Regions from separate parts of the Homo sapiens genome. Here all the other regions are linked to region 1. The links are contacts of gene promoters, found by promoter capture Hi-C in blood cells and fetal thymus (Javierre and others, 2016). All regions are on one chromosome and are shown on one strand. Each heading gives the region's core, a stretch centred on a gene start or on the middle of the fragment in contact. The rest is flanking DNA. Distances are from core to core; before and after follow the strand shown. Region 1 holds the start of OTP (orthopedia homeobox). Region 2 overlaps LOC101929154 (a long non-coding RNA gene). Region 3 overlaps LOC101929154 (a long non-coding RNA gene).

What was found. Contacts are between HindIII fragments. The CHiCAGO score rates a contact against its expected background, and 5 or more counts as called.
Region 2: a contact is called between a fragment that was not itself captured here and the fragment with the promoter of OTP in region 1, in 4 of 17 cell types (naive B cells, total B cells, M2 macrophages and 1 more). The highest score is 6.2, in naive B cells.
Region 3: a fragment that was not itself captured here is called in contact with the fragment with the promoter of OTP in region 1 in 1 of 17 cell types (M2 macrophages); the score reaches 5.1 in M2 macrophages.

What each region holds. Positions count from the first base shown.
Region 1 is chr5:77,636,564-77,640,486 of GRCh38, reverse strand. OTP (orthopedia homeobox) reads left to right here and starts at 1,774. Exons shown (of 3, transcript NM_032109.3): 1 at 1,774-1,974; 2 at 3,257-3,666. The coding sequence starts at 1,938. RefSeq lists enhancers at 677-1,231, 1,232-1,788. The HindIII fragment of the contact is 2,017 bases long and covers 753-2,769 here.
Region 2 is chr5:77,956,802-77,960,724 of GRCh38, reverse strand. LOC101929154 (a long non-coding RNA gene) reads right to left here. Exons shown (of 2, transcript NR_105012.1): 2 at 1,629-1,865. Among named protein-coding and RNA genes, the nearest start is that of TBCA, 180 kb to the right of the region's middle. RefSeq lists enhancers at 1,464-1,974, 1,975-2,485, 2,997-3,508. The HindIII fragment of the contact is 4,643 bases long and covers 1-3,923 here.
Region 3 is chr5:77,936,823-77,940,745 of GRCh38, reverse strand. All of the region lies in intron 1 of LOC101929154 (a long non-coding RNA gene), which reads right to left. Among named protein-coding and RNA genes, the nearest start is that of TBCA, 160 kb to the right of the region's middle. RefSeq lists a silencer at 3,449-3,618. The HindIII fragment of the contact is 1,101 bases long and covers 1,320-2,420 here.

The sequences.
Region 1 (3,923 bases), core at 525-3,024:
CCCAGTCCGGCCCGGAGCTTCCCGGGAAGCGGTCTCCGCAGCTCAGAAGAAACTGGTGTGGCCAATACCCTGCATTCACACGTGTGTGCATATGTGTGCGCGCGCACGTGTGTGTGCAGGAGAGGAGGCGAACGGGCTGCAGGAGGGAAGGAGGAAACAAAACTGCCCGAGAGTTCGCTTTGCCGCCTCCTTTGTCTCCTTGCTCGGTCCCTGTCACACATACAGCTGAGGACACACACACACACACACACACACACACACACACACACAATTCCTCTCGCATCTGCTCTCAGCCAGCATTTTCAATGTTTTGTCTAAGTCAATTGGACGGCGAACAAAAAAAGCCATTTGCTCAGTATTATTTAAAACAGACTTCATTGGGCCACCCTTTTGTGGAAGGTTTATTTGCACTAAATGAATAATCTTAATTGCATCACTCTCGAATTAAAAATCAATGTTAATCAAGTTGGGAGTAGTAAATATCAGTTTTCATTGTGACTGGGTAGAGGGCATTTTTCTTGTGTTGCAAATAAAAATACAAGTCAAATAACTTTAAAAGGGCATTATGTTCTGCTACAAATACAATTGAAACGGATTGTTTAGGAGCAGATCAGAAATGGTACAGAATTTTGCACTTAATTTCCTCAGTTATCATTTACAATAAGAACCTCTAGGCTTGACAGCCAAGTCTAAACAGTAGTAAATTAGTACAAATTTATACTGATTTTACTCTAATAATCGTAATAAAAGCTTATAGATTTGGCACTAATTACATAAATGCCTAATGATCTTGAAAATTACTCTGGTTAGAAATATATTACTAATCTAAACTTTGTTGTTGGCTGGCTCTGAAAAATCAGAACATTAGAAATGGTTCGCTTCACTTGTGCAAAGCACTTTAAATTGTTCAAGTAGTTTAACATATTCAAGAGGAAAATAAAGAGCATTTAACTTTATTTACAGCCTTAAGTGGAGTTGGGAGCCGAGCTGAACTTAGAAACTTTGACCAAAAGAGCGAGTTAGGGGCGAGGATGCGGGCGTGGGCCAAGCGGAAGAGCAGGAGCCGGGAAGAAGCCCGGTGAGAAGAGTGCAGAGCGCTCGAACCCACACTCCGCGAGGGTCCCCAAAGCAGACAGCGGGCGCTGGCGGTGCCAGGGAAGCCGACTCCTCTTTGCGCTCTAGGCCCACTGTGGGGTTGGGGCTCGTATAGACCCCAGGGCACAGCCAGGGCGCCTGGACCCTAGGCGCAGGCCTACTGAGCCGCGGCGAAGTCCAGGCGTTGTCTGAAGGCCGCGGTGTGCCCTCGTCGCGCCCTGGGCTGGCGGGCCAATATGAGCGGCAGGCCCAGAGAGCGCAGGTGGGGGCGACCCTCAGGTCACGCCAGGGTCATGGCCCGCTCTGACCCCTGCTCTGCCCCTGCCCTAGGAAGATGTTAGCTCAGAGGCACAGAGCTACGCCTTCGAAGCGCGCAGCGCCGGCCAAGGGGAAGGAAAGGGGAGCCTGGAGAAAATCGCAGGGAAGAACTAGAGGGAGCCGGGCCCAGAAGCTCAGGGCGAGGCCGAGGCGGCTGAGGCTGCTTTAGCTCCTGCTCCGGGCTGGAGCTGCCAGGGCTGCCGCCGCCGCCTCCTTCAGGCGGGCGCAGGCGAGCGGGCGGGCGGAGTGGGGGACTCTCCGGGCGCTGACATTTGCAGGCTGCCCTCCTGATTGGTCCCCTCGCCGAGCTGCTCACGGGTTCATTCAACTGTTAAGCACCTCCCCGTCTCTCTAAAGGACATTATAATGCAAGAAGCCCCCTTTTTAACCACAAACCGAATTTTCTTTCATTTAGGTGATCTATATATATCTATATCGTATAGCTTATAGCTTATATCTATTTTAAATAACTTAAAGCCGCTAAAATTTGGGGGGGAACAGCTTTCGCCCTGGAGCGGTGCGCGATGCTGTCTCATGCCGACCTCCTGGACGCCAGGCTAGGTGAGTGCGCGCCTCTCGCCCGGGCAGCCAGGAGAAGCCGGGGCAGGAAATTGTCAATTTGTTCCTTATTTTACCTTAATGCGACCTAAATGGACTAATTTCTTTAAAAGTAATTGTGCTGCATTAAAGTTTAATTTGATTTAACATCGCCTTTAAAAAAAAATCTATGGAATATGTAGATCCAAGAAAGGAGTTGGGGAATGTTGTTACTTTTTGTTTTTCTTATTTTTCTCTTCCCCCCTCCCCCGCCTTTTTTTTTTTTTCGAAAGGCGATATACCCCGTGATAATTTGTTAGGAGGTGTTTCTCTCTCTTTTTTCCCTCTCCTGTTTGTTTTGATTTGGGATTTCTTTCTCCTTCCCTCCCCCCGTTTCTCTCTCCCCACCATCTTCTTCTCTCCTCCTTTTCTAAGTGTGGTGTAATTTGTAAAAAATCTGGCATAAAGGAGAAGCTGCTGCCATCAAGGCGGATTTGCTAAGTGTGCTGGTTGAGAAGGAGAGAAGCCAAATTCAACCTCACAGTCATCCCCCCCTCTTCTGCAAGGGACTCAGCGTTGCCAATGGCTGTGAGGAATGCGCCTTTTATTTCTCTGGAAAGAAAAGTTGAAATCTCTAAAGTTTGATTCACGGTTGTCCATAGAGTTCACTCGAGTTTCCTTAATGCTATCTGGGTTGCTGAGCTCTGGGTTTCCGGATTGGGAATCTTCGGTGATGGATGTGACTCCATTTTCCAAACACTTTCTCTGATTTGAGGGGGAGGCGGAGCTGATTTGGGTTGATTTCGGGGGGTGAAAGCTTGGAGGCTTATTCATCTTCCGAAAGTAAGAGGGAATCGGCTGAGGGCCGGAGGTACAGTTCGTCAGGCTGCCGAAGCGCAGGTGCCGCAGCAACCGAGGAATTGTTTAATTTTCTTTCTGCCCCCCGCACCCCTGTGTCCAAAGATTTGCTCTCGATTTCCTGGGGCGCCTGGGGTACGGTTTATGGAAGGGATTCAGAGGCATGTTTTATTGCCGGGACTGGGAGTGTTTTATTGTGGGAGAGACGAAAGCTTGTGCTGTTTACTACGGGAGCCGGCTGCGGCGAGGGCAAGGGGCCGGGAGATATTATTCCAACCCGGCTGTCCAAATTCTGGGGAACCCAGCTGAATACCCTGGGAGTTTCTTCCTTAGGACAAGCGCGGGTGCGGAGGGGGCCGAGGACGGGTTGAAGGAAGGCTGCGCGGGGAAGACAGCCCCTCCTGGCATCGCCAAGAAAGTAGTGACCGCGATCCCCTTGCCTCCTCAGGTATGAAAGATGCCGCCGAGCTTCTGGGCCACCGGGAGGCGGTGAAGTGTAGGCTGGGCGTGGGGGGCTCCGACCCCGGGGGCCATCCGGGGGACCTGGCGCCCAACTCTGACCCAGTGGAGGGAGCCACTCTGCTGCCCGGGGAGGACATCACCACAGTGGGCTCTACTCCGGCCTCGCTGGCGGTGAGCGCCAAAGACCCGGACAAGCAGCCCGGGCCCCAGGGCGGCCCGAACCCCAGCCAAGCCGGCCAGCAGCAGGGCCAACAGAAGCAGAAGCGCCACCGGACGCGCTTCACCCCCGCACAGCTCAACGAGTTGGAGAGGAGCTTCGCCAAGACTCACTACCCCGACATCTTTATGCGTGAGGAGCTGGCACTGCGTATCGGGCTGACCGAGTCCCGAGTGCAGGTACGAGGGGCTTGGGATCTGGGACAGAAGGCAAGGACAGGGCGGGAGGATTTGGGCAAAGGGAGCAGGGTCTTCCCTTCCCCTGTCGAGATCCTGGGCTGCTTTCAGGCTGCCTGTGCGTTCCTGTATCGAGTTATCTCCTTCTCTACCCGGAAACTGGTCCCCATCGCCATCCCCCAATGGACACGCAAGGCCCGTCTCCGGCCAGTATAGCGACATCCCGGAAGAAGCTCCTCAAAATCGAAGCCCGGCGTTGT
Region 2 (3,923 bases), core at 662-3,161, 320 kb before region 1:
CTCAACTTCCAGCTTTACTGGCTTTAAATATTTTGTCCTCAGTACCTCAGTCCTCTAAGGTGTTTGGCTGTGTGCAGAATGTCATATTCCTGTCCCCTCTGTTGATAAGGATGTGGCTTTGTGTCTGTGGATGCCTGTGTGTGCAGAGGCTGGGCTCTCTGAAGGCAGAAAGCAGTCACTGCCTCTGTGGCTGCTCCCTCGTGATCCCTGCATCCTACACACACTGGTTTCCCACCACTGGCTGTCTGGTGACAATGTGTCTACTGTGCTTGAAACTGTTTAAATCCAGGGTATCATTTGGACACTGTCAGTTACTCCAAGATTCAACAGTATGGGTATGCCTGCTTTAGACATGGCAGGAATCATGTAAAGGAAGGAAAGCAAGAAGGCAGGGTAGACACACAGCCCCATTCACATTTAAATGCAAGGCCAAGGATTGGGGGTTGTTTTCCGATGAATCTTTCAGTTTCTGCTAGTGTGTGGCTATAACCATTCTAAGTGGCAGTGCAGGGATCTTCTTTGCTTTCTGGCTTTCTAATTGGCAACTAAATCCTATTTCTGAAAAGCAAAAATAGATGTTGCAAACAGGTATCTTTCTTTGGGTTGCCTTGGTCACCTTTAGAGTGCCATTTCACAGGAAGAAGGAGAGAATGAAAGTTCTTTTGCTGAAGAGGAGTTTCCTTCTCAAAACTTCTCAGAACATTGACCATGACTGCTCATGGCTAATCCTGGCTCCTTTTCACTAAAGGGAAACACTGAGAAAAGTCTGAGAACTCAGGACTGGGGACAGGCTCTAGAGGGAACTAACCCACCTTCAGTGAGGCTTGCTTTTGTCCAGACGCTGCCTATTTAGTACATCAGTAACCTGATTTTATTCAAAATAGAGCATCTCACTATATTTCAAAGTGGTTTACAACTCTGTATAAAATAGAACATCTTTACTAGGGGATGGTGGAATATAAACGTAGAAACACAAATATTAATACTACCCTCACAATGCATGCCTTACAAAAGACATTCGCTAAGTTTTGTTATGTATAAAAACATATTTAGCTACCAACTTTACTGTCACTGTGGAAAATTGCACAAACCAATATATGTAAGTGAATAATTTTACATGTAGTTAGCATCTTTTCTGATTAAGAGAGTCTTTTAAAGAACATATTGATTATGCATCTTATGTATCCTATGTGGCTAAAGCAGCTCTGTGAATAGAGACCTGCCAGTTGTTTTGTTAAAATAACAGAGTGCAGCTGCGATTAAAAAAAAAAAAAAAATGAAAACAGCCTATCTGGAAGAGCTATTTTTAGTTTTAAAAGGTGGAAGAGGAGGGAATCAAGAGCTAATGTTTTAGTTTGCAAATATAAGAGTTTTGGGGAAGAATGTCAGGTCAGGCAAATGTGTGGGCCACAATGGAACGATGGTTACGTATTTGCTAAAATGTTTCCAGACTAGGACTTCCCAAGTGAGTGGCAGATATGCGTGGGAAAGTCACCCTCGAAACCAAAGAGGGGAGGATGCACACCAAAAGAGAATCTGTTTTTTTACATTGTAGTTGTAATGGGAACAATCACTGTTGCCAAATGTAAACTTCTTAGGTTTGTAAAACCCCAAATAACACCACTCTCCATAGATAAAAATGTATATTTGAAGGAAATAGTTTTACAATCGAACTAGAGATTGTCATTGCCTCTCAGAAACAAAACGGAATATTATCTGTCCAAGATAAAACACTCTTTGAAAGTGCTTTCCTGAATCGTGTTGACTCTTCAGTGTGTCAGTGGGCAGGTCCCGGCTGTGTTCGCAGCTTTGTGGTCTCCTCCGGGCCTCTGGGGGTGGCTTTGAATGGGACAGCTTCACAAAATCTGCATGAAAATTGGGAATTGTCAAAGTAATTTGCCATTTACTGACTTGCTCTCTATGCCTTTTGTGTTTTGATCAATAAAAACTTAAATCCTTTACCCAGTTTAGTAACAACCTATTCTAAAGCATTATACTCCCCCTAATGTTTTTCGAGCTCTGGTTGTACAGTTATCCATTTTCAATGATATTCATTTTAAAAGGTTAACAAACGAGAAACTAAACCAACCATACAAATAACAGCCTAAAGAACACTTTCCAAAATGTGTTGCTGTAGTGCCATTTCACATTTAATATTCATGCAGAGGAAAGCTAAAGGCCACCAAACCAGGTGGATAAAATAGTACTGCATTTTATGACTCATTCTTAAATGAAATCTCTTAAATATTGCTAATGAAGCCGGCTCCCCCGCCACAGCCTTGCCGGGCGCCCTTTCGAGCTGCTTCAGTTCCATTTCCCTGTCTAGCAATTTGCCCCAGGCCCCTATTAAATGAATTATCACGGCCCCTAAATCATCTCTGCGGGGGTTTCCTCTAATCCCATCAAGACACTTACACTCCCTTTCTTCCCTCCTGGTGACATAATGAATGATTATTTCATGGGGAGCCGTTAAAGAGGCCCCTCTGGAAGAGGGGAATGCGCGCTGCCCGGGGCGGAGGCGCGGGGCTGGGCCACGGGGAGGCCGGGTGGGCACCAGCGCCGCCTCGGGCTGACGGGGACAAAGAGGCCACGCCGCCACCAACTGCCCTCCCGGCCGCCCGAGGTGGGGGTTCCCGCGAGCGGCGGGCCGAGAGCCTCCCGCTCCAGGCCTCCCCGTGCGCCCGGCCTGGGTAGCGACTCCGGGAGCCCAGGAACGCTGGGCAAGGAGAGAGAATATAAATGTTTTCCTTAACCAGAGGAAACACAGCACTCACAAACCACTTGCGGAATAGATTAAGCTAATTTATTAAACACAGTTTGCCTGGTGACTGAGCTGAGCTGAGTAATGATTTACAATTAAAAAAAAACATTAATAAGAGAAAGTCAGGGGCCACCGTGGCCCTAATCATGGGGCCATGGCAGCTCCGATGGGGCTGGGGCGCGCGTCCCGGCGCTGGGTTTGGGACCAAGGGTGGCCTTAGGCCTGCGGCATCGGTGAAACTTCGCAGCCGTTGCGGAGCCGAGGCCCCCAGCTCCGGGGAGATGGCGTCCAGGAGAAGAGAGTTGGGCCCTGGGCGGGGAGCCATCTCCAGGGAATCAGGCAGAGGGACCCTCTTCCCCAGAGGACGGGGTGGTTTGGTTGGGGGGGTGTGTGCGTGTGTGTGTTTTACGTGTTGTTTCTGAGGCTCTCAGACCTCCCTTCGCATACCCGTGCTGGGTCTTCTGACAGTGAAGTAACATAAAACAGTTTCCAGGAAATTTTGGAAATTGAACTTGAGGACACGCGTCTTGATAGCGATTCTCAACAGCGTTGGGTGGCAGCAACCGTCTTTTCATAACAAATACTTCCTAATGCCCAGCGCGGTGGCTCACGCCTGTAATCCCAGCTCTTTGGGAAGCTAAGGTGGGAGGATCTCTTGAGCTCAGGGGTTCGAGACCAGCCTGGGCAACACAGTGAGACCCCCCTCTCTACCCCAAAAATACAAAAATTAGCTGGGCATAGTGGCACACGCCTGCAGTCCCCGCTACTCAGGAGGCTGAGGCAGGAGGATCACTTGAGCCTGGGAGGTCCAGGCTGCAGTGAGACGTGATTGTGCCATTGCACTCCAGCCTGAACAACAGAGTGAGATCGTGTCTCAGAAAAAAAAAAAAAAAAGAAAGAAAGAAAAAGAAAGAAAGAAAAAAGTTGTAATATCTTTTACTATTCCAAATAAAAATATTGAATAATATATCCTACATGTGATTTAGAAGAAGAGAAGATAGAAGGAACGAAGAAAAGAAAGAGAGGCAAAAACATGAGGGCCTAACTATAAACAACAACACAAAAGGTATAATATAACAAAAATATGGTAAAATACATGTTTCAATGGGTACATTCTCCGTCACGACAACTAAGAAATGAAGTAATCAAATAATCTCACTGC
Region 3 (3,923 bases), core at 621-3,120, 300 kb before region 1:
TCAACCCATAGAGACAGAAAGAAGTCTATTACTGTTTTCAAGAATTGAGATGCCTAGTATAAAATTAGCCTCTCAAACAGGAGGCGTTTAAGACCTTTAGACATTTAAGACTTTTAGATTCATTGTAATGAAACTGTGAAACACCAAAGTCAAAAAGAAAATATTTAATGAGTTCAGAGAAAAGAAGATAGGTAACTTATAAAGGAACTACATTTAGACTTGCTGACTTCTTTATAGCAACAATAAAAATCATAAGAAAATTAATAATATAGTCAAAGTGCTCAGAAAAATAACTGTCAACCAAGAACTCTGCATTCAGCTAAGTTATCATACAATAGTGAGAGAAAAATGAAAATGTTTTTAGACAAACCCTGAGAGCATATTTTACCAATAGATCCTCAGTGAATAAGAAAATTGAATCCAGAAGGAAGAATTGAGATGAAAGAATAGGAAGCAGGGCTGGGCACAGTGGCTCACACCTGTAATCTCAGCACTTTGGGAGGCTGAGATGAGCCTGAGGTCAGGAGTTCGAGACCAGCCTGCCTAACATGGTGAAATATCGTTTCTACTAAAAATACAAAAAATTAGCCAGGCGTGGTGGTGCTCGCCTGTAATCCCAGCTATTCTGGAGGCTGAGGCAGGAGAATTGCTTGAACCTGGGAGGCGGAGGTTGCAGTGAGCTGAGATTGCACCATCGCACTCCAGCCTGGGCAACAAGAGCGAAACTCCATCTCAAAAAGAAAAAAAAAAAAAAGGAAGCAAATAAATATGTGAATGAGTCCAAAGAATAACTGACATAAAGCAACAGCAACAATAGTAATTTACTGGGGATTAAAAAAAAAAACTAAATTTAAAATATTGAACAGCAGGTATATGGAAAGCAGGAGGGGATTACTTGAAGTTAAAGTGTCCCTTTTTTTTTTTTTTTCTTGAGATGGAGCCTGGAGTGCAATGGCGCCATCTCATCTCACTGCAACCTCCACCTTTCGGGTATTTTGGGTTCAAGTGATTCTCCTACCTCAGCCTCCCGAGTAGCTGGGACTACAGGTCCCAGCTCACCCAGCTAATTTTTGTATTTTTAGTAGAGACAGGGTTCACCATGTTGGCCAGGCTGGTCTCAAACTCCTGACCTCCGGTGATACGCTCATCTCAGCCTCCCAAAGTGCTGGCATTCCAGGCGTGAGCCACGGCGCCTGGCCTGTAGGTAAAGGGTTCTAAGCTCCATGACTTGTTGAGGAGGCAGAATAGATAGTGATTAACTTTAGATTTTGGTAAGCACATGGGCCAAATTTTTAAGAATAATAACTATTCTTAAAGCTTGTTGAGATTTTGTTACATATTCATGTTATTCAAAATTTTTAAAAAATAACCTCTATAAATGCCTACTGATGCTGATACAACTTCCAAAACCAGGGCACTTGGGGAAGAGAAGGAGGGAGAGGGAAGGAAGGCAAAGAAACTTCAACCCATCTGCCAGAATGCAGGAAAGAAAAGAAGAGAGAGAGAAAAATAGGATAAAAGAGAGTGTAGAATAAGATGGTAGAAATAATTTCAAACATATTAGTAATATGTGTATGTAATTTGCCTAAACTTGCCAATTCAAAGAAATTATTAGACTGAATTTTAAAAATCTAGCTGTATTTTGCTTATAACAGACAAATCAAAATTATTAGGAAACAGTAAGACTAAAAGTAAAAGACTAGGGGAAAAAAGTTGGTAGCTTCATTATTACCAAACAAAATAGACTTCAAGGCAAAAAGTATTATTAGAGAAGACATATGGACACAGTGTGTGGAACCAGACATTTGAAAAGCTGTCGTATCATGTGAAAGAGAGATTCTACATCAAAAACACACTCACATGATTTTGTATGGCTCAAAAGGACAGAACAAAAGGTAGAAATTATAGAGGCAGGTATTGACGCAATGTGTTGGAAAGAGCTTTCTGACAATTAGCTCTCTGCAATGAAAGTTCTGTTTCTGAAGGTATTTGGGCTGTGGCTGTGGATGCATGAGCAGAGCTAGACAGATTGTGTCCAAATTTGTGCATTAGAATCACCTGGAGAGCTTTTTAAAAACATATTTCATGGCTTCTTTCCAGACTTAATGAGAAGATTCTACACCCTAGGGATCTGCTTTTGAAATGCACCCCAGGTGATTTTGATGTAGCTAGCTCAGAACTGATCCGTGGAATAGCATTTGGGAACGCTGGCCAGATGACTCCTAAAGATTCCAGTAGCTGTGATGTTTAGTAATTTAATAATGCCTTGCTGGACATTTACCTGTGAACTAGAGAGATTACTAGAAACTGGAGAGGTGACATCATGGTTTTCAGGGTACAGAATAATGGAGGCTAAGAATATCTGCAGTTTGTTGTAACTGGGTGAACAGCCCATGTGCTTTCTCCACCGTTCACAAGCTTTTCAGAGATGTTGGTAAAGATGATGGAAATTAACATTCTACTCAGAACAAATGGCCTAAGAGGTCCAACATGACTTACTGTTTACATCTCCGACACCCTCATTTTCATTATGGAGAGACTCTGTTACATGTCTAGTGGCCCGGAGCACTGTGTCTCAAACTTTTCCTGAGCACACGGATTACCTGAGAATCTTGGTAAAATGCAGATTCTGCTTCGGTTGAACTGGGGAGGGATATGCATCTCTAACAAAGCTTTCATTTCTTTTTTTTTTTTTTTTTAATTTCATTCCCTTCTATTCTAACAAAGCTTTCTATCTTCTCAATTTATCACTCAGTATTCAGGAACCTTCTTTTTCTTTAGACAAGATAAAGAGAGAAGTTCTCTGGTCTCCCAATGACCCTTTACCTCCTTATTCTAAATGATCATTTTGTCTTCCTTTTGCTGTGAACTGATAAGTAGAAGAGGCTGGAAACAGTGCTATGGGGATTGGGTTTTGCAAGAGATACGGGAGTCAGAACAAAATTTCAGAGCTGAGAATGGTGACATCTTAAGAGCTTAGACTTCTATTCCTACCCAGAGCAGGATAGAAGCCCTTCCTGGCCTGTCAAAAGACCGGCATTCTCCCCTCAGAATGAACTTCTTTGTTTCGTTTTGAAAGTTTCTGTTCTTTCATAAGTCACTTAATCTTCCTGAGGCTGTTTTTCCCCTGAGAAATGCTAATTAGATTTTCATGTGCTTTATAATTTATTATTATTTTTCATTAAGGTAAAATTCATATAACAAAATTTACCACTTTGAAGTGTACAATTCAGTGGCATTTAGTACACTTACAATGTTGGGCAAGAGCCACCTCTATCTAGTTCCAAAACATTTTTATCACCCCAAAAGAAAACCCTGTACTAAGCAGTCACCCCCTCTTCCTGCTTCTTCCTAGCCTCTGGCTACCACCAATCTGCTTTCTGCCTCTATGGATTGACCTACTTTGAGTATTTCATATAAATGGGATCATATAATATGTGATCTTGTGTGTCTTGCTTCTTTCACTTAGCATAATGTTTTCTGGGTTCAGCCACACTGTAGCATGTTTCAATACTTTGTTCCTCTTTTTTCTGAGACGGAGTCTCACTTTGTTGCCCAGGCTGGAGTGCAGTGGCACAATCTCGGCTCACTGCAACCTCCACCTTTCAGGTTCAAGCAACTCTCCTGCCTCAGCCTCCAAGTAGCTGGGATTGCAGGTGCACGCCACCACCTCACCCAGCTAATGTTTATATTTTTTAGCAGAGACAGGGTTTCACCATGTTGGCCAAGCTAGTCTTGAACTCCTAACCGCAAATCATCTGCCAGTCTCAGCCTCCCAAAATGCTGAAATTACAGGCATGAGCCACTGCGCCTGGCCCATTCCTCTTTATGGTTGACAAATATCCTATTGTCTGGATATACCACATTTTGTTTATCCATTCGTCTGTTGCTAGAGATTTTGGTGTTTTCACCTTTTGGCTATT